Linked DNA regions of Homo sapiens: regions 2, 3, 4, 5 and 6 are each linked to region 1. Evidence: promoter capture Hi-C in 16 types of primary human blood cells and fetal thymus (Javierre and others, 2016). All regions are on one chromosome and are shown on one strand. The core of a region is centred on a gene start or on the middle of the fragment in contact, and the rest is flanking DNA. Distances in the headings are between cores, read along the strand shown. Region 1 holds the start of LRPPRC (leucine rich pentatricopeptide repeat containing). Region 2 overlaps SRBD1 (S1 RNA binding domain 1). Region 3 holds the start of COX7A2L (cytochrome c oxidase subunit 7A2 like). Region 4 holds the start of SRBD1 (S1 RNA binding domain 1). Region 5 has its middle 4.8 kb from the start of PRKCE. Region 6 has its middle 4.4 kb from the start of TRI-TAT2-1.

Region 1 (2,988 bases), core at 13-2,512:
ATCTCCCCTTCTCTGGTGGTCAGAATACTATTAATAACCAAATGAACACTTTCACCAACTTTTCTTTTCCCCTCCACTACAAAAGTCTATACCAAACCTATCTCTGATAAACCTCAAACCATGAGAGCATTTATTCGCCTATCTGACACCCACTTAGAGTTTAACTTGCCTTTGCATCCCCAGATTCCAACAGAGTGCCTTGCATGTGCTCATTCATTCAAAGACACTTACAGGACGGGAGCGGTGGCTCACACCTGTAATCCCAGCACTTTGGGAGGCCGAGGCAGGAGGATCGCTTGAAGTCAGGAGTTCGAGACTAGCGTGGCCAACATGGTGAAACCCAGTCTCTACTAAAAGTACAAAAGTTAGCCTGGCATGGTGGCGCACACCTGTAATCCCAGCTACTCGGGAGGCTGAGGCAGGAGAATCGCTTGAACCCGGGAAGCGGAAGTTGCAGTGAGCTGAGATCGCGCCACTGCACTCCAGCCCAACTCGCGCAACACCTTCTTAAATGCTGAAGGAAAACTCCATTCAAGAGAACGCAGGCAAAAGCCCAAAGTGATCATAATCCAGCGTCCAGCTTTAAGTCATCCGTGGCTCACCCAAACTCCCAACCCACTCCTCGCCGCCCCATCCCTCGCAAAAAGCTAAATTTCCAATATCTAAATGCTAGGTGGTTACTGATCACCAACGGTGACCGCACGTGGGACACCACCCAAGCTGGCCAAGTGTAAGGAAAAGACCACCACCCGACTTCCCAAAGCAGTCTTCAAAGCCCCCCTCATCTTCGTTGACCATGGGTACCCCGAGGGCAGTAAGGTCCAGGCTGAAGTGGCGGGGGCAGGATTCAAGCCGGAGGCAGGCCATGCCCACAGCCGTGACCTTCTGAAGGCGCTTAACCCTGTCACCCGAAAACCCCTGGTAGGGAGCGTGGTGCGGAGCCCGGGGAGGCTAGGTCCTGGGGCGGGGAGAAGGGTGGCGAGCACAGGCAGGACCCGGTCCCTGCCGGCACCCACGACCCCGGGGGACCCTGGCGCCGCAGCTTGCCTGGAGAAAGGGCCTGGGCACTCACCCGGCCACGGGCCCGGCGCGAGCGGCGGGCAGATAGGAGGCGGCATGCAGCCGGCCCGGGCCGCCAGGGAGGAGGCGCAGGGAGAGCGGGAGGCGCGGGGCCGCCCCGGCACGCAGCAACCAACGCGCGGATCTCAGCAGGGCTGCCATTGCTCGAACGTCCCCGCAGCGGGAAGCACGCTCCGCCAGAAGGACAGGAGGAGCATGTGACCGCAGGGTAGCCTGGCGCGGCAGAGACCAACTGCCGGGCGTGCCAAATGTGGGGGGAGCGACGGATTGTTTTAGGTTGGAAGATGGAAAACCGCACTTCTCCGAGGACAGAAGACCCAATGTAATATTTACATAAACGATGTTGCTTGATTCATTATCGAAGCTTTTCTTTTCCGTCTTCCGTCTCCGATCTGGGCATCGTGTTCATTCGCTGCACCCCTGCACTCCTCTGTTGGTAGAGCCGCAAGAGGTCAACTCCTCCCAGGTTGGCGCAGAGGCTTGTGGGAGGCCAACTAGTAAAAATACCGAGAACTCTCGAGGAGAGCCGACTATGAAGATCCCAGGACGTGGGAAGGTTTCCCCCGCCCCCGAGTGCAGATGTTGCTGCTAACGTTCAGCCCTGACGCCATGTCCAATAGGAACGGCCCTTCACTCTCAGAAACGCGGGCCGGAGAAACCGTGGAGGTCTTTTGCACCTTGCCGTTTGCCTCCCAGGTTCAACATGATAGGATGTGGATTATCAGGGCCTGGGAACAGTGTAAAGGAACGCGCAGGTCCCCACCCTAAGCGCGTACGCGGGGCCTCGCTTTAGAAAATAAATGAATTCTACCAAAAATCCTATAGTTTTAAAGCTGGAATTGAACTGACTCTCTTCCCCAACCCTCCACCCCTACCGCGCCTCTCCCTTCAGTAAATGCACATATACATGTGAGAAGTAAAAGAACAATGTAATTAAGAGTCTCCAGCCAAATATGGGGAGAAAACTGGCAAGTTAAACCCATCGCTGGCGAAGTGGCTCACGCCTGTAATCCCATCACTTTGGAAGGCCGAGGCGGGTGGATCACCTGAGGTCAGGAGTTGGAGACCAGCCTGGCCAACATGGTGAAACCCCATCTGTACTAAAAATACAAAAAATTAGCCGGGCGTGGTGGCGGGCGCCTGTAATCTCAGCTACTCGGGAGGCTGAGGCAGGAGAATTGCTTGAACCCGAGAGGTGGAGGTTGCAGTGAGCCAAGATGGCGCCATTGCACTCCAGCCTGGGTGACACAGCGAGACTCTGTCTAAAACAAAACAAAAAAACCACGTCGCTGCCTTCACAGGGCTTACAGACTGGATCGGTTCCCTGTGCACACGTGGGAAGCTGAGAACAGCCTTCCACTCCCTCTACACCTGCCTGTCCCCTACCTATCACGAGGCAAACGCGGCGGGTATTTCCTCTGGAAGCCCTCCCACGGTCATTTCCGAAGTGACTGTTTATCCCACTGGACTCCTTATCAGTTAATCCCACGAACTCCTTATCAGTAGGGACTGTGATCTCTTATTGTAGGCCATACACCTACCCAGTGCCAGACACACAGTAGGTCTCATTAAATATGTGTTAAATTAATGTCTATTTTGAGATGACCTAGCTCACCTCTCCTTTGAGAGATGAGGGAACGAAGACACCCGCTCCAAGCCCCCAAAAGAAACAAGGTGAATTGATTGACTCTGGGTTATATTACTGAGCACTGGGAATACAAGTTATTCACCTATTCAACACGTATTTATTGAATACATATCCAGTGCCATACACTATTTGAAATCCTAGGAATACAGCAGAGAACAAAACAAACCAACCCTAGATTCTAATTAAGCTCTTTAAAGTTTAATTTGGGAAGACAAAAAGAACTGTGATGCAAAATACGCCAGGGTAAAGGGATTGAGGGT
Region 2 (2,831 bases), core at 229-2,728, 1.6 Mb after region 1:
CAGGCGATCCGCCTGCCTCAACCTCCCAAAGTGCTTGGATTATAGGCGTGAGCCATCGCGCCTGGCCACAACCCAATTTAAAATGTACAAAAGATCTGAAGAGGTATTTGTTCAAAAATTATATACAAATGACTGATAAGTACATGAATAGATGCTCAGCATCATTAGAGAAATGCAAATCAAAACACAAAAAGATGGACAATAAATGTTGGGAGGGATGTAGAGAAATCGGAACCTTCACAAACCGCTGGTGAGAATGTAAAAATGGCATAGCCACTCTGGAAAATATGGCAGTTCCTCAAAAGGTTAAATGTAAAGCTACCATATAACACAGCAATTATACTCCTAGGTATATATCCAAGAGAAATAAAAACATATGTCCACACAAAAACTTAGACACGAATGTTCATAGCATTATTCATAATATCCAAAAAGTAGAAACAACCAAACTATTCACTGACTGATGAATGGATAAGTAAAATGTGGAGAATCCATATAATGTAATATTACGTAGCAATAAAAAGGAAAGGCATACTAATACATACCATAACAGACAAACTCTGAAACCATTATGCTAAGTGAAAGAAACCAGCGGCAAAAGTCTGCATATTGTATGATTCCTTTATATGAAATGACCAGAACAGACAAATCTATAGAGATAGAAAGTTGGCTGCCTAGAGCTTGATGCAAGGAAATATTTGGGAGAAAAATGTCCTAAAATTGCTTGTGGTAATGGTGACACAACTGAGTGAATTTACGAAAAACCATTGAACTTACAAAGTTCTAATGGTTGCATTAAATGCAATATGAATTTTACTTCAATAAACCTATTAGAAAATTAAAACACTCTTTTCTTAAAGCACTCTTTAATACCAATTATTAAGATGATAAATAGTAACACAAATTAACCAAATAATTTAATCAAGTTAACAGCCTCCCTTAAATATCTGCTAGTCTGTAACTATATATTTATGTATATTATATATTAAAAATTAAACAACATCACTTCAACATATATTCAGATTTCTCACTAATTCTTAATGGCTTTCTTCCAATTACTCTTAATGAATGGGATTTTAATAAACTAAGTTCTCCCTTTACAGGACACAAACTGATATTTTAACAATTTTAGCACATTTCCATGAGGATCTCTAACAAAAACTTAGACTTCCTATCTGTGGTGAAACAAGCTTAGAATAATTCAACTTAATATTACCACAAAATAATTCTACCACGAAAATTTCTCAATTTGTGCTTCATGTTGAAAAGAATGTCAAAAGATAAAACGCGTATTTTTTTGTAACTTTAATTTAAATTTTAAAAATATTGAGTAAAATTTTAAATATCAAACAAATTGTCAGAGTTTTAAAAAAATTATATAGGGGACTTTTTTCTTTTCTTATATACTTGAGAAATTTCTAAAGTAAACATCAGCAGAAATAGAACAATCACTTAGAAATAAATGTTTCGGCTGGGTATGGGGGCTCATGCTCATAATCCCAGCACTTTGAGAGGCCAAAGCAGGAGGACTGGTTGAGCTCAGGAGTTCAAGATGAGCCTGGGCAACATGGCGAAACCCCAACTCTCAAAAAATACAAAAATCAGCCAGGTGTGCTTGTGCATGCCCATAGTCCCAGCTCCTCAGGAGGCTGAAGTGGGAGAATGCCTTCAGCCCGCAAGGCGAAACTTGCAGTGAGGTGGGATTCTGCCACTGCACTCCAGCCTGGGTGAAAGAGCAAGATACTGTCTAAGAAAAAAAAAAAAAAGTAAGCTTACATAAAACAATATATTCAATAATACTGCACAGAACTATCTATAAAGAAATAAATTGTGAATACAAAATAAACTTCAGTTTGAGCTCAGCAGAGACTTCCGTATTTGCTATAGGCTGTGCCAGCTTAGTAAACAGAAGTTCTTCATACAAGAAATTTTCTCTAATAAATTAAGTAGAGTACAACAATATAGAGGAGAGTTATTTAATTCCGATTTACATAAGTATACCATAATATCACAATACATTATTGGAGGTTTTTTGCTCTTTTTCACCATACCTAGTAATGTAATACGTCAAACTTACAAAAAATCCTGACACACAGGAAGACCCATGGTGGAGAAGGGAATAAGGTAACAGAAATAATAAAGCTTGGGACAGAAACTGAAATTGAAAGTGAGTAGTGGGTTAAAGCGGAATTACTGCAGATGGTGACATTGAACAGGAAATAGGTAGTTAAGACACAGGAAATTGCACGTCAGTAAAAAGACACACCAATAAAGATAAGGAACAGAAAGTCCCATGAGAGAATGTGAAGACTGAGTTACAAATTCATGTGGTAGAAAAGATCACACTAAGGACCAATTTGAAAAAGAAAGAAAAAAAGATGCAGCTGGAAGAATTTACTAAGCAGCTATTAACGGCTATTCCCACAGTACTTGGAGAGAGTTCCACAGTAATTTTCCTTCACCACACTGTCTTTCATCATTTGCATTCATTTCTGTGTTCTGTGATACTGTGCTGGGGTTATCTACATAAAGGCTGAAAAGTAAGGTTCAGATTTAGGACATGAGGTCTCAGCACTATAGGAATTGGGAAGCTGTTTTTGTAACCTAGCATATCATCACTCCGGCCTGTACATGATAAACTAAAAAGTTCGTAAAACAGCAGTGCTGTTTTTCAAAACTGACATTTCCAAAATGCTCTGCTTTCCCAGGCCTGAATACTGTCACACCCAGAAGCCTGTGTCAATCATAATCTTAAATTCAGTCACTAACTCAGAATGCCACATTTGCTACACACACTAGTTAAAATGCAGAGCCCAATAAAATATTTTCAA
Region 3 (3,050 bases), core at 549-3,048, 1.6 Mb before region 1:
CCTGTCGCCGAGGCTAGGGCCGCCACTTCTCATGTCCGAGCTGGCCAGGCGCCACTCGTACCTGCGGGCTATAGGCCTCCGAAGCCCATGCTCCTGCCAACTTCTGCGTGAAGCCACTAAACTTGTAGTACATGACGCCCAGAGTCCGGCTTCCCGCATCCGCTGCCAACGCGACCGCCCCAGAGAAGGACCCCGCCTCCCCGGCTGTGGTCCCGAGACTCAGCGCAAGGACCCGGTGCTGGGACTAGGGCTGCCCGAAGATCGCCTAACTTAAAACCTGCACACTTAAGCCGCATTGGGGAACCAAAAGCCAGGGTTCTCAGGACCACGAAAGGCAAAACCAGCTCTAAGAGAGCACGCAAAGTCGCTGTGGCGGAGTCTGTAGGAAATATGAAGTTCCCTCTTTCCCCCATTCAGATTTGGGCAGTGCCACGACAACTCAAGAAATGCGCAAGCGCTCCACGGACTAAGCCCGGCGGACTAAGCCCGGCAGTGTCGGAGTCAGGTGGAGCATGCTTTAGGAGGGGCGGGCTCCAGGCGGGGCCTGGGGGGGAGAGGGCGGTGATTGGTGGGCGTGGTCTGGGTAGGGGCGGGGCTACATCGAAGCCGGTTGGGAATTCCACCATCCGAGAGAGTCTGTGCTGCGGAGCCACCGTCTGGTCGTCGGGTTGAAGGCGTCTCTTGCTTTACCGAACTTTAACTGATCGTAGTCTCATTTATTTCCTTCCGACCTAGAGCACCTCTTATCCAGAAGCCACCACCTGCTGTTGCTCAGTCTGCCCAGGAGTATAGACTTGTCGGCCAAGCTTCCCCTGGCAACCTGGGAGTTGAAGCAAATAAGAAAATTTGGAAGCACCTGCTGAAGGCTGTTTAGTACCCAGGGCTGTTGGGAGATTTGCCCCAATAATATAAAAGTAGCCTCCTGGGCTTTGTGCAGAGGAAATACACATGCAGAGTGATCTAAAGCTCAGGTACCAGGATGTAAATGTCACACGGTTTCTCAGAACTGGTTTTTATTCTCACCTGAGTTTTAAGGTCATTGATTATTCATCCTTTTCCTGGCCTCTGCTCTTTGCGATAAATGAGGTAGGGGGAGGGTGATCAGAAACACTTGTAAAATCTGGACCTTGAGCCTGAAAGATCTGGAACTACCACTTTCAGTTCTGGTAGTATTCGCTTCAGTTCAATTTAAATATGTCTGTTAAGCCTGTGCTGTGTGCAAGGTACTGTGTAAAAGGAGTATACTAGTTTCTTACTCTCCAGGGATGGACTCAGGCTTTTCTTAGCTTCATCATCTAACCATAGGTTTACACAAGCATATTCTAGATGCACTTATGAAATCATGTTGCAAATTGATGGATGATACTAACCTATATATAGCATTGCCCTAAACTCATTTAATCTTCACAACAATCCTATAAGGTAAATGCTATTATCATCTCCATTTTAGAATACAGGAAAATGACGCCTGGAGAAGCTAAGTAACTTGCTCAGGTCAGGGATAAGTGGCAGAGCTAGGCATTTGGCTCAAGACTTCCTACTGTTAAGCACTATGTTACAAATAAATAGATATGAAGCCATTCTGAAAAGAGGAGGATCAAGGCTGAGCATTCCAGGGTGAGGGTGTACACCAGCATCCTGGTTGCAGGCTTACGTTCAAGAGCCCCAAGTATTCAGCACCGCCAATATGTTGTAAAGGTTTCAGCGAATTCATGTAAGCCAGCCCAAAGTTGCCACTTTTACAAAGAGACACTGTGATATAATGGAAAGAACATGCAATTTGGGTTTATGTCCATATTTCTCCAAGGATAAGTGGTTTGGGACTAGTGATTTCCTTTTTTTTTTTTTTTTTTTTAAATTCTTTTTGAAACAGGGTCTCACTCTGTCCCAGGCTGGAGTACAGTGGTGTGATCTCGGCTCATTGCAGCCTTGACTTCCCAGGCTGAGGTGATTCTCCTACCTCAGTCTCCCGGGTAGCTGGAACCACAGATGCGCGCCACCACGCCTGGCTAATTTTTTGTATTTTTAGTAGAGATGGGGTTTCACCATGTTTCCCAGGCTAGTCTCAAACTCCTGGGCTCAAGTGATCTGCCAAACTCAAGACTCCCAAAATGCTGGGATTACAGGCATGAGCCACCGTGCCAGGCCCACCCCATGTTTTGATACTGAATAGATTCAGGAAGATTTTTCTACGACAAAAAGTTCGACTACCTCAAAAGAAAATGATCCATTGACATTAGCCTTCTTGAGTCCCAGGCGCTAGCAAATATTGAGTGAAAGAAAAAGCCTTTCATAGAGTTTAGATTGAAAAGAGAAATTAAATGATTTGGGACAGCTACTGTCTCCATCCCACTGACTTCTGGACATATTTTGGAAGAAGAAACGAAAGAATATTCTCTAACTTTTAGCAGCACTAAGGTGTACCAGCTTCTTTTATAAGGTGCCTGTCAACACTGGTTATTTTCTTAAAGTTCCTGCCATCTGATTTTAGATCCTGCAAGACATAAATTAAGAATCCTGAAAATGTTACAACAGCCAGGCTGTTCAGTGGGAGATAAAATGTCAGTAGCAGAGTGTGGGTTGGGATGTCACATGGAATGGCTGATCATGGGAAGATTTTGTCTCATTTCCCAAATAAAACACAGCACACTCTGACAGTACTAAGGCACCCTATTCTCATTCGTATTTGCATATCCCATCCAACATCAAAGACAATCTTTTTTTATCACGATCCCTTCAGGTTGTTCCCCACATTCTATTCTGAAGGGAAGTGACCACGACTCAGAGTAGAGAAGCTTGCCAATCACCAGGTGAACTGAGTGAGTGCAAATGCCAGTCCAGCTCCTGGTGAATCTGAATGCCGCTGCTTCTCCATTTGTGAGGGGTGTGTGCTAATGGCCTCTGGCAGGCCGCTCTGTGAAAGCGCCTGGGGAATGGATGGAAAACCAACATAAAATTTAAATTGGGTAATACTGAGTAGAGATAGGAACCAACTGTGAAATAGTTGTTAATTTTTTAAATTCTCTCATTTTTTCCAAGCTGACTTTTAA
Region 4 (2,890 bases), core at 50-2,549, 1.6 Mb after region 1:
ATGTACAAATATGGTCTCTACAGAGGAATATACATTTATTTTCCACCACTCTTAGGCAATGCCACACATTGCATTCATCTCTTTCTGAAGAAGTGATGGCACATAAGAATATTCCTATTCTTCAGTGACTTGGGATTTTTCCCTCCTTTCAAACTATCTTAATCACTGTAGGCACATGAGCATATTCCAAACCAATAATTTGGAGGTTGCTATGATGTTACTAAGGGAAGAGCCACTAAACTAGGACGACTGCAAATCAGGACAAAGGGGCAAAAGGACGTGCACACTAACAAATACTAAATTAAAATTGGAAAAAAAAATTTAAATTCAAGAAGGCAAACAAAGGAGGACAATTTCTTAAGAAGCACCTAAACAAGTTTCCATGAAGGACCAACAGAGTGCTTGAATGTTAGCAGATTCCCAAGTCACAAAAACAAAATACTAGAGCTGAAAGAACCTGAGATCAGACAGTCCCGCTATATTCAGAAATCTGAGACCCAATGAGGTGAAACAGTTTACTCAAAGGGGAAAGATATGTGGCAAAGGACTATAGCCCAGTGCCTGGAACACCAAGACTAGTCTCGTTTCCCATTCCACACACAATATGTTAATGACATGTCACGTGAGGGGTTCGAGGAAAGTTGCCTAGAGAGTTCCCAATTCATTCCTTTCCTCCGGTTACTGAGCGCCTCCTACATGCCAGGCGCACTACAGAAGGTGCAGTTGATTCAGACAGGGCCACCATGACCGTGAAAAGGGTGCTTCCTCTCCCACCTCCGATAATTTTAGGTATAAAAACAATCCAGGTAAATTAGCCGGGTGTGATGACGGGCGCCTGTAGCCCCAGCTACTCGGGAGGCTGAGGCAGGCGAATGGCGTGAATCCGGGAGGCGGAGCTTGCAGTGAGCCGAGATCGCTCCACTACACTCCAGCCTGGGCGACAGAGGGAGACTCCGTCTCAAAAAAAAAAAAAACAGGCTTGCCCAGGCTTTTCTATGTCTGTTATGCGCTAAGAGCTGCAGCAATTTGGCTGAAAAGAGGTGTCACGAGGTAGCTAGGAGGGGTTTTCGGGTGGTCGGTTGTGAGAGACCGCTGACAGTAAAATGTAATGAACTTCTCACTTTTAAAAAAGGGGTGTTATTGCCCAAATGAGCGCTCAGAACTTTTTTAATGGCCCCAAAGATCCCGGAGCCCGGACGCCGGGCTCTTGAGAACCCGCAAGACGACCGCCAAGGCGCACGCACAGCTCACCTTCCCGCCCGGCACGTCAGAAGACCCGAGATTCCGTGAGTGCCACCGCACCTTCCGGTTCCCGCCGGAAGTTTTTCAAACGCCAGAAGGTCCGCCTCGCTTCTTCCGGACCAAGTTAGCCACAGACCTCCAAGGCGCGGCGCTACCGAACGGGGCGGAGCCAGGCTGGACGGAGGCGGGGCTAGAGCGAGGATCCCGAGGGAGCGCCGGGGTGGGGCTGGTTCGTAGAAATGAAAAATGACTTTTTTTTTACGTGTTATTTACCAAGAACACTAAACTCTTAAGCCCACAGATACAGCCAAATAAATTAGATTATAAAAGTAGGGAAATAAGGCTGCTGTTGTCTACATTCGAATTTAGCAGATCAAAACCCCATGGATTTGTTTTAGAAAATTCTAAAAAGCAGCTTTCCACTGCTAATGACTTATTTCCAGGGACTCTGAGTACTGAAGAGCCTAGCAAGTTATTGAAATGACCTGTGACCGTGCCTTGTTGCAGATCTACCGGAAGTGAGCATAGATTTTACTGGATAATTTTTGTGATTGGGGGAAAAAAAAAAGGATTCTTTCTAAATTTAGTAAATCTAATCTTCTATATCTGAGATTGTTGGCCAGGAAAGATCAGTTTCCGAGATTGTTTAGGGATTTTTTTTTCCTTTTAATTAGCACAGTCGTATGTTGCCTTTAGTGATGGTTCCAGAAGGCCTAGAATTGTCTACTACAATCACAGTCTCCTTCACAATTTATGGTCCTGAAGAAATACTAGAGAACACCTTACCGTTCAGGATTGTGGGAAGAGAAACCAGATCATAGAAATCAACAACAATAATGTACTACTTACTATTCACCTACTTTTGATGTTGCATTTGCTACTCAGGTTTATGGTAAGGGGTTGTCTTGGTCAATTTTCTGCTGCTGTAACCAAATACCATAGACTGGTAGATTTATAAAGAAAGAGATTTGTTTGGCTTGTAGTTCTGAAGGCTGGGAAGTCCAAGACAGAGGGCATTATTGTTGTGTCAAAATATGATGGAGGGCATCATACTGGGGTAGGGGTGGGGGAGGCATGTGAACCCAATTGACTCCCGAAATAACTAACCCTCCTGTGATAATGGAATTAACTCATTCATGACCTAATCATTTCCTAAAGGTCCCACCTCTTCATACTATTACAATGACAAGTTTCAACTTGAATTTTTGAAGGGGACATTCCAATCATTGCAGAGGTAGTAAGGGTAAAGGTGAACTAATATACTGCAAAGTCTTTTGACATAAGTCCTGCCCTGGAGGAATTTACGACCAAGAGTAGGAACCAGATACAGCCAGAGGAAACAGACACCCAAGCAAAACAGTCTAGCTTCAAGGGTTGGGTATGCAGGTAGTAGCCACACTACAGTGAGGAGGAGAGTAAGAGTGGGCCAGCAAAGCATTGAAGCTTGACTTTCCTCTCCCCACAAGGGATTTTTGCCTTACAGCTGGGGAAGAAAAAAAAAATCACAAAAATAAATAGCCTGTTAAGATTTTAGACATCAGACATCTGGGGAAAATAAAATCTGAAGCAGGTTCTCTAAAATTAAAGTATGTAGGTAGTGGCCTACTCTAAAGGCCAATAAGGACTGTCCAGAGAATATTTCCCTTGG
Region 5 (3,174 bases), core at 283-2,782, 1.7 Mb after region 1:
ACTTAGGAGGCTGAGGCAGGAGAATTGCTTGAATCTGGGAGGTTGAGGTTGCAGCAGTGAGACGAGATTGTGTGCCACCGCACTGCAGCCTGGGTGACAAAGCAAGACTCCATTTCAAAAACTTAATTAATTAATTAAACAAACCAAGTGATCCCTCAAATCCCACAGAGTTTAACAAGTAAGTCTTCTCAGTTCTGTTGGGCCCAAATGCCTCCTTTGTGCTGCCGTGGTTCTAAAGTGGCTTTAAGGAACTGCACGTCCCATGAGGTGTTAAGCATATAACGGGGAGGGGAAAGGAGCTTGGATGGCTGCTGGTTCTGATATTAGGCAGGATTCTCCATGTCATCTGGAGTCTTCTGTATGCAGTGGCCCAGAGCAAAAGGGAGGGAGGACGGTCAAACAGTCTGACTCTTACTGTGATTATTGCTACCCTAAGTTCCTATAGTGCTTTCTGAGTGGGCTGATTATTTGTTATTTATTGTGTGCCACCTTGAATTACCTTTCTGCACCTGTCATTTGAGAATAGTGTCTATGGCAGTCTTCAGTGCTATTCACCAAACATTCCATGCTCCTTGACAGTACAGATGGTAGAACTTCCCAGACCCTGTGGTTGGGGAAGGCGGGATCTGAGACTGGTTCTAGCTAACAATTAGTGGGCACAAATGATATTTAGCACTTCCAGATGGATTTTTTTGGGTGGGGGGCAGGTGGGGGACAGGGTCTGGCTCTGTTGCCTAGGCTGAAGTGCAGTGTCACAATCTTGGCTCACTGCAGCCTCCTCAAGCAATTCTCCCACCTCAGCCTCCCAGGTAGCAGGGATTACAGGCACCCGTCACCATGCTCAGCTATGTTTTTTTAATTTAATTTAATTTTATTTTATTTTGTAGAGATGAGGTTTTGCTACCCAGGGCCTCCCAAAATGCTGGGATTACAGGCATGAGCCACCAGGTGGACTATTTAATTGCCTGTGTAAGACCCTCCAGACATCCTTTTTCTCTCTGCCCATGACCAGCCATGTTCCAGATGGTAACTTTTTAGCCAGCCTGGATCCAGAAGTGAGAATGACGCTAATGGGAAGCAGAGCTCCCAACCAACCTGCCATAGACTTACAGCATGCATGAGAAGAAAGCTTTGTTCTTTTAAGGTGTTGGGATCTGGGGAGAGCTTATTACAGCAGCATGACCTAGCCAATCCTGACTAATAAAGGGCCATTTTGTGTTGTCATTTTTTGTTTCCCTAGTGCTCCAAATGACATGACATGACACTACTGACTGTTAAATAAAGGACCGACTGAATTGATCTACTCATCTCCCCAGGTAGAGTAGGGATTATCCATATAGCTATTTATCCTCCCTGGAGCACCTGCCCTAGTATCCTATATATAGCAAGTACTTAGTAAAGACCCTTGGATTGACATATGATCTTAAAAGTCCAAGACAGGGGCCAGGCACGGTGGCTCACACTTGTAATCCCAGCACTTTGGGAGGCTGATGCAGGAGGACCACTAGAGTCCAGGAGTTCAAGACCAGCTTGAGCAACATAGTGAGACCCCATCTCTACAAAAACAATCAAAAAACTTTAGCTGGGCATGGTGGCACATGGCTTTAGTCCCAGCCACTCAGGAGGCTGAGGTGGGAGAATTGCTCAAGTCTGGGAGGCCAAGGCTGCAGTGAACTGTGATTGTGTCACTGTACTCCAGCCTGGTCAACAGAGTGAGACTCTGTCCCTTATAAAAAAAAAATCCCAAGACACAACCCAACATCTGACCCACAGAAGATGAAGAATGTTATGCTATTCTCCAAATGGCATCCTAGTGAGTAGGGCTCACAGTCACAGGCCCTGAGGAATAGGGGCACCAGGCCATCTCCTTCTGCATCCATCAGCAAGCTCGATAGGGCTGCCTCTGATCCCTCCACCTCTTTGCAGGTATTAAGTGAAGCTTGGCCTGAGTCACTGCAACAGAATATAGAGCAGAGATGGGGCCAGAATTCGGAGCTGAGATGGGGCCAAAATAAGAAGACATGGCAGGGCAGACAAAAGCCCACCACAGGAGTATAGGTGTGGGGCAAAGTTTGAAGTGGGGCTCAGGGTCGGGTGGGGGCTAGGCTGGGGCAGGACCAGCGGAGCTCTAGAAGGTTTCTGTGTCATTATACTGCTGCGCGTTCCATCCCATGGCCCAGGTGGTTGGATTCTGTTCAGCGGAGCATGTGTGGAATGTATGATAGACCCTGACCAGGCAGACCTTTGCAGAAGCCCATTAACATTCTATAAATGGCAACAACCAGCACAGCAACAGGGACATGAATATTAACGCGCTAGTCTACGGTTCTGGCTCCCCCTTCCCCGCTTCCTCCAGCTGATCTAAACAGTATCCACAGACAGTTTCAATTTTGATTATACAGAGTGTAAATCATCTTCAGACTTGGATCTTCTCTTTGTCTAATACCCTGTTTTGAGGTGAGCCTTCTGGAGGAAAATTACAGAAGAGAAAAATATTTATCCATCACAAAATCGCCTTTGTAAAGTATTAACTCTAGTTATGCTGCTTGCCCGCTGGAATGTTTGGTGTCTCTCCAGGAAAAAGTTGAGACCCATCTGCAGGCCCTCTGAGGTCTTAACTATCAGGTTCCTACTTACTTCATCTCCTGTTACTACCTGCCACAAGTGGGGCACACCTGGCCGCTTACCTGAAGAGTCATGGCTTTCCTACCTGTACACATTATACTTTTTGCAGCCAGTACCCTTCCCTTCCCTCTTTGCTGCTGGAAGAACTCCTGTTGGAAAGCCTAGACTCAGCTCAAAGGATTCTGCTGGTTGATGCCTTCCCAGGCTCCCCAGGCAAAGGGGTGATCCTTCTTCTGTGCCACTCCCATCCATAGACCTATTGCAACACTGATCGCCCTGTCCTGGCCACATCTGTTGTTCTATTCTTTTCTCATAAGCCTTAATTTTGAAAGGAGAAAGGCTCCATTTTGGTCATCTTTGTTAAATTATTGTATCATTTTCTTCCTTCTCACAAAGATTATGAAATAACTAGGCCATAGTTGGAATCCAAAGGTCATTTTACTCAATGTATATGCTAACCACTGTCTTATCCTTTGGGATTGGAGACAGGGGCTGAGGGAAGGATGAAGCTGGCAATAATTTCCTATTGGAATTTTACCGTCTAAGCCC
Region 6 (2,974 bases), core at 175-2,674, 1.2 Mb before region 1:
AACAAACATACTCTGAGCCTATTTGTGGCCCAGTGTCTTAAAGTGATGTTGATAGAATTTTTTAAGGTTGTGGTGGGTGATAAAAATCAAGTGAGGCAGGGCATGGTGGCTCACACCGTAATTCCAACACTTTGGGAGGCTGAGGCAGAAGGATTGTTTGAGCCCAGGAGTTCCAGACCAGCCTGGGCAACATGGTGAAACCCTGTCTCTACAAAAAATACAAAAATTAACCCAGTGTGATGAGGCACGCCTGTAGTCTCAGCTACTTGGGAGGCTGAGGTGGGAGGCTCACCTGAGCCCAAGAGGTCGAGGCAGCAGTGAGCTGAGATTGCACCACTGCACTCCAGCCTGAGTGACTCTGTCTCAATTAAAAAAAAAAAAATCAAGTCAGAATATGGGAAAATGCTTTAAAAACCACAAAGTATTATGACATTTTTATTAGCATCAGACCACTGGCTTAGGCCTGACTATACTGTGTAGTGGCTTCAAGAAGGAAGTGGGTAAGTATGAAGTGACCAAACTGCGAAGGAAGCTTGAAGTGACAACTGAACAACCCCAGGCCCCAGCAGGAGAGAAACCTGATGTAACCCAGGCTGACCTTGGCTTTGTAGAATGCTTGGATGAAGAAGGGCTCATCAGAGCTAGGGGTGACACAGCCTGAAAGGAGTGCAGATTCAGTAGAATTTAGAAGAAGAGTGGAGCCAATCTGGAGGCAAATGTTTCTGACAAATGATAAGATGCAATTTTCATAGAGATAATTGTAAGTCTATGTTCAGTTCAAAGTTCCATGTGTGAGGATGCCTGGCTTGACAGCTGTTTGCATGTAAAAGATCTGGGGATTTCAGATGTGTGCAACCTCGGTTGTGCCAGCAGTGTGACCCAACTGCTAAGAATGTCAACTGATTATTAATGCATTACTATATAATGCATTAGATGCTGTGGTGTCAGGGATCACAAACCAGCCATCTATGGAACAAATCTAGCCTGCAGACAGATTTTGTTTGGCCTTCCAGCACTAACTTGCAAAGTGCTGACATTAAAAAAAAAAAATCATTTGCCTCCATATTGGGAGATTTCACAGAAATGCCGAGATTTTCAGTTTCTAATGAAAAGTCAGGACTGGGTGTGGTGCCTCACGCCTGTAATCCCAGCACTTTGGGAGGCTGAGGCGGGTGGATCACCTGAGGTCAGGAGTTCAAGACCAGCCTGGCCAACATGGCGAAATCCCACCTCTACTAAAAATACAAAAATTCGCCATGCCTGTAGTCCCAGCTACTCGGGGGGCTGAGGCAGGAGAATCTCTTGAACCTGAGAGGCGGAGGTTGCAGTGAGCCAAGATCACACCACTGTATTCCAGCCTGGGAGACAGAGTGAGACCTTGTCTAAAAAAAAAAAAGCCGGGCCATCTGGGGCCCTTATTCCTATATGGCAAGACTGACTGCCCATCTTGGATGTGTATGTGGCTTTCGGTTTGCCACGGTCCCTGTCACTCTCCATTATTCTCCAACACAGAGGTAGGTGCCAGCTGCCTTGATTCACTGGCTTGCTTTGCTGTTTTCTTTATCCCAGGCTCATTTCAGTCATTTGTACCCTACAGATATTGAGTGTGTGGCCTCCATATGGGTAAAGGGAGGGAATCCTGTTGAACTCTCAGTAGGTCAGAACACAGCCAGAGGGCTGTGATCTGTAGAAACAAGCTCATTTAAAATTCAACAAAACGAAACCAAAGCCCAATTCTTTATTATGGAAAATTTCAAACATACACAAAAGTAGAGAGAACAGTATAGTTAACCCCCATGTTTCCACTTTTAAAGAATTGTCAACATTGTTTTATCTATATCCTTCCCACAACATTCACCCCTTACCTCTGGAATATTTTAGAGGAAATCCTAGATATGGTTTAATTTAACCTGTCAAAACTTCAGCATATATACCCAACAGGTAATCACTTTTTTAAAAAAGCATAACCATGGTATCATTATTACACCCAACAAGAGTAATAATAATTACTTAGCTTCATCTCATACCTCATCTGCTTTCAAATTGCTACCCATATCTCTGAAAAATATTTTTACAGAAGATTGGTTTGTTTGAATCAAGATCCAAATATGGGCTGTCCTTGGCATTTGATTGGTGTATCCTTTAAGATATTTAAAGGATAAATCTCTTTTAATCTATTCGAATTTCCTCTCTTTTCACCCCCTTTTATGACATTTCTTTGTTGACCTTTAGAATTTCCCACAGATTTTGGCTAATTGCATGCTCAAGGTTTTCTTCAGCCCCATGTTCTTCAATCCCTCATGGCAATTATATCTAGAAGCTTTATAATATTCAGATTATTTTTCCCCCAAAATATATTCTAGATGGTACTGTGTGCTATTGCACCACAAAAGAAAGTACATAATGTCTGGCTGTCCCACATTTAGAAATATGGCTTTTGATTGATGATTTCAGCATGGTCAGCAGAATCCATCCATTATAAAATCCTTCATCAGCCTCTAATCCTTCATCAGCGTGGTTGGCTGAATCCATCCATTATAAAGTCCTTCACCAGCCTCTAACCTAATGTTTTAGCAGCCGTTGATTATCTTGGTCTAAATCTATTATTTTTATTGAGGATTCCCCAATGGTGCTTTTCTAATTCTATTATTCCTTCTGTATTTATGACTATGGAAGCACAATTCACATAAGAAAGACTGGATAATTTCTTGATTCTTTCTCTTTTTCCACCAATCTTTGATTCCCTAATAATTTCTAAAGATAACCAATAAGTTTTAAATTTTAAAGCTTTTCTGAGTTATAGTTTATGTACAATGAATTGCATTAATAATGTTGAGTAGCTTTTCATATGCTTATTAGACATTAATATATCCTCTTTGGTGAAGTATTTTTTTGTTTTTTGTTTTTGAGATGGGGTCTTGTTTTGCCCCCCAGCCTAGAGTGCAGTGGCATGATATCACAGCCTCAAACTCCT

Evidence for each region. Contacts are between HindIII fragments. The CHiCAGO score rates a contact against its expected background, and 5 or more counts as called.
Region 2: a fragment that was not itself captured here is called in contact with the fragment with the promoter of LRPPRC in region 1 in 7 of 17 cell types (total CD8 T cells, naive CD4 T cells, fetal thymus and 4 more); the score reaches 15.2 in total CD8 T cells.
Region 3: a contact is called between a fragment that was not itself captured here and the fragment with the promoter of LRPPRC in region 1, in 7 of 17 cell types (monocytes, naive CD4 T cells, non-activated CD4 T cells and 4 more). The highest score is 14.6, in monocytes.
Region 4: a contact is called between the fragment with the promoter of SRBD1 here and the fragment with the promoter of LRPPRC in region 1, in 2 of 17 cell types (naive CD8 T cells and non-activated CD4 T cells). The highest score is 6.2, in naive CD8 T cells.
Region 5: a contact is called between a fragment that was not itself captured here and the fragment with the promoter of LRPPRC in region 1, in 1 of 17 cell types (total CD8 T cells). The highest score is 5.1, in total CD8 T cells.
Region 6: a contact is called between a fragment that was not itself captured here and the fragment with the promoter of LRPPRC in region 1, in 1 of 17 cell types (non-activated CD4 T cells). The highest score is 6.2, in non-activated CD4 T cells.

What each region holds. Positions count from the first base shown.
Region 1 is chr2:43,994,727-43,997,714 of GRCh38, forward strand. It overlaps LRPPRC (leucine rich pentatricopeptide repeat containing), which reads right to left and starts at 1,263. Exons shown (of 38, transcript NM_133259.4): 1 at 1,073-1,263. The coding sequence starts at 1,221. RefSeq lists enhancers at 814-1,465, 1,261-1,540 and a silencer at 841-1,160. The HindIII fragment of the contact is 4,663 bases long and covers 1-1,442 here.
Region 2 is chr2:45,565,859-45,568,689 of GRCh38, forward strand. All of the region lies in intron 9 of SRBD1 (S1 RNA binding domain 1), which reads right to left. Among named protein-coding and RNA genes, the nearest start is that of SRBD1, 44 kb to the right of the region's middle. The HindIII fragment of the contact is 581 bases long and covers 1,189-1,769 here.
Region 3 is chr2:42,361,029-42,364,078 of GRCh38, forward strand. COX7A2L (cytochrome c oxidase subunit 7A2 like) reads right to left here and starts at 189. Exons shown (of 3, transcript NM_004718.4): 1 at 62-189. The coding sequence starts at 133. RefSeq lists enhancers at 1-106, 1-199, 107-850, 220-279, 840-929 and a silencer at 480-649. The HindIII fragment of the contact is 1,989 bases long and covers 805-2,793 here.
Region 4 is chr2:45,609,968-45,612,857 of GRCh38, forward strand. It overlaps SRBD1 (S1 RNA binding domain 1), which reads right to left and starts at 1,300. Exons shown (of 21, transcript NM_018079.5): 1 at 1,252-1,300. RefSeq lists an enhancer at 951-1,120. The HindIII fragment of the contact is 4,677 bases long and covers 1-2,683 here.
Region 5 is chr2:45,645,317-45,648,490 of GRCh38, forward strand. No RefSeq gene overlaps it. Among named protein-coding and RNA genes, the nearest start is that of PRKCE, 4.8 kb to the right of the region's middle. The HindIII fragment of the contact is 810 bases long and covers 1,128-1,937 here.
Region 6 is chr2:42,813,462-42,816,435 of GRCh38, forward strand. No RefSeq gene overlaps it. Among named protein-coding and RNA genes, the nearest start is that of TRI-TAT2-1, 4.4 kb to the left of the region's middle. The HindIII fragment of the contact is 1,788 bases long and covers 531-2,318 here.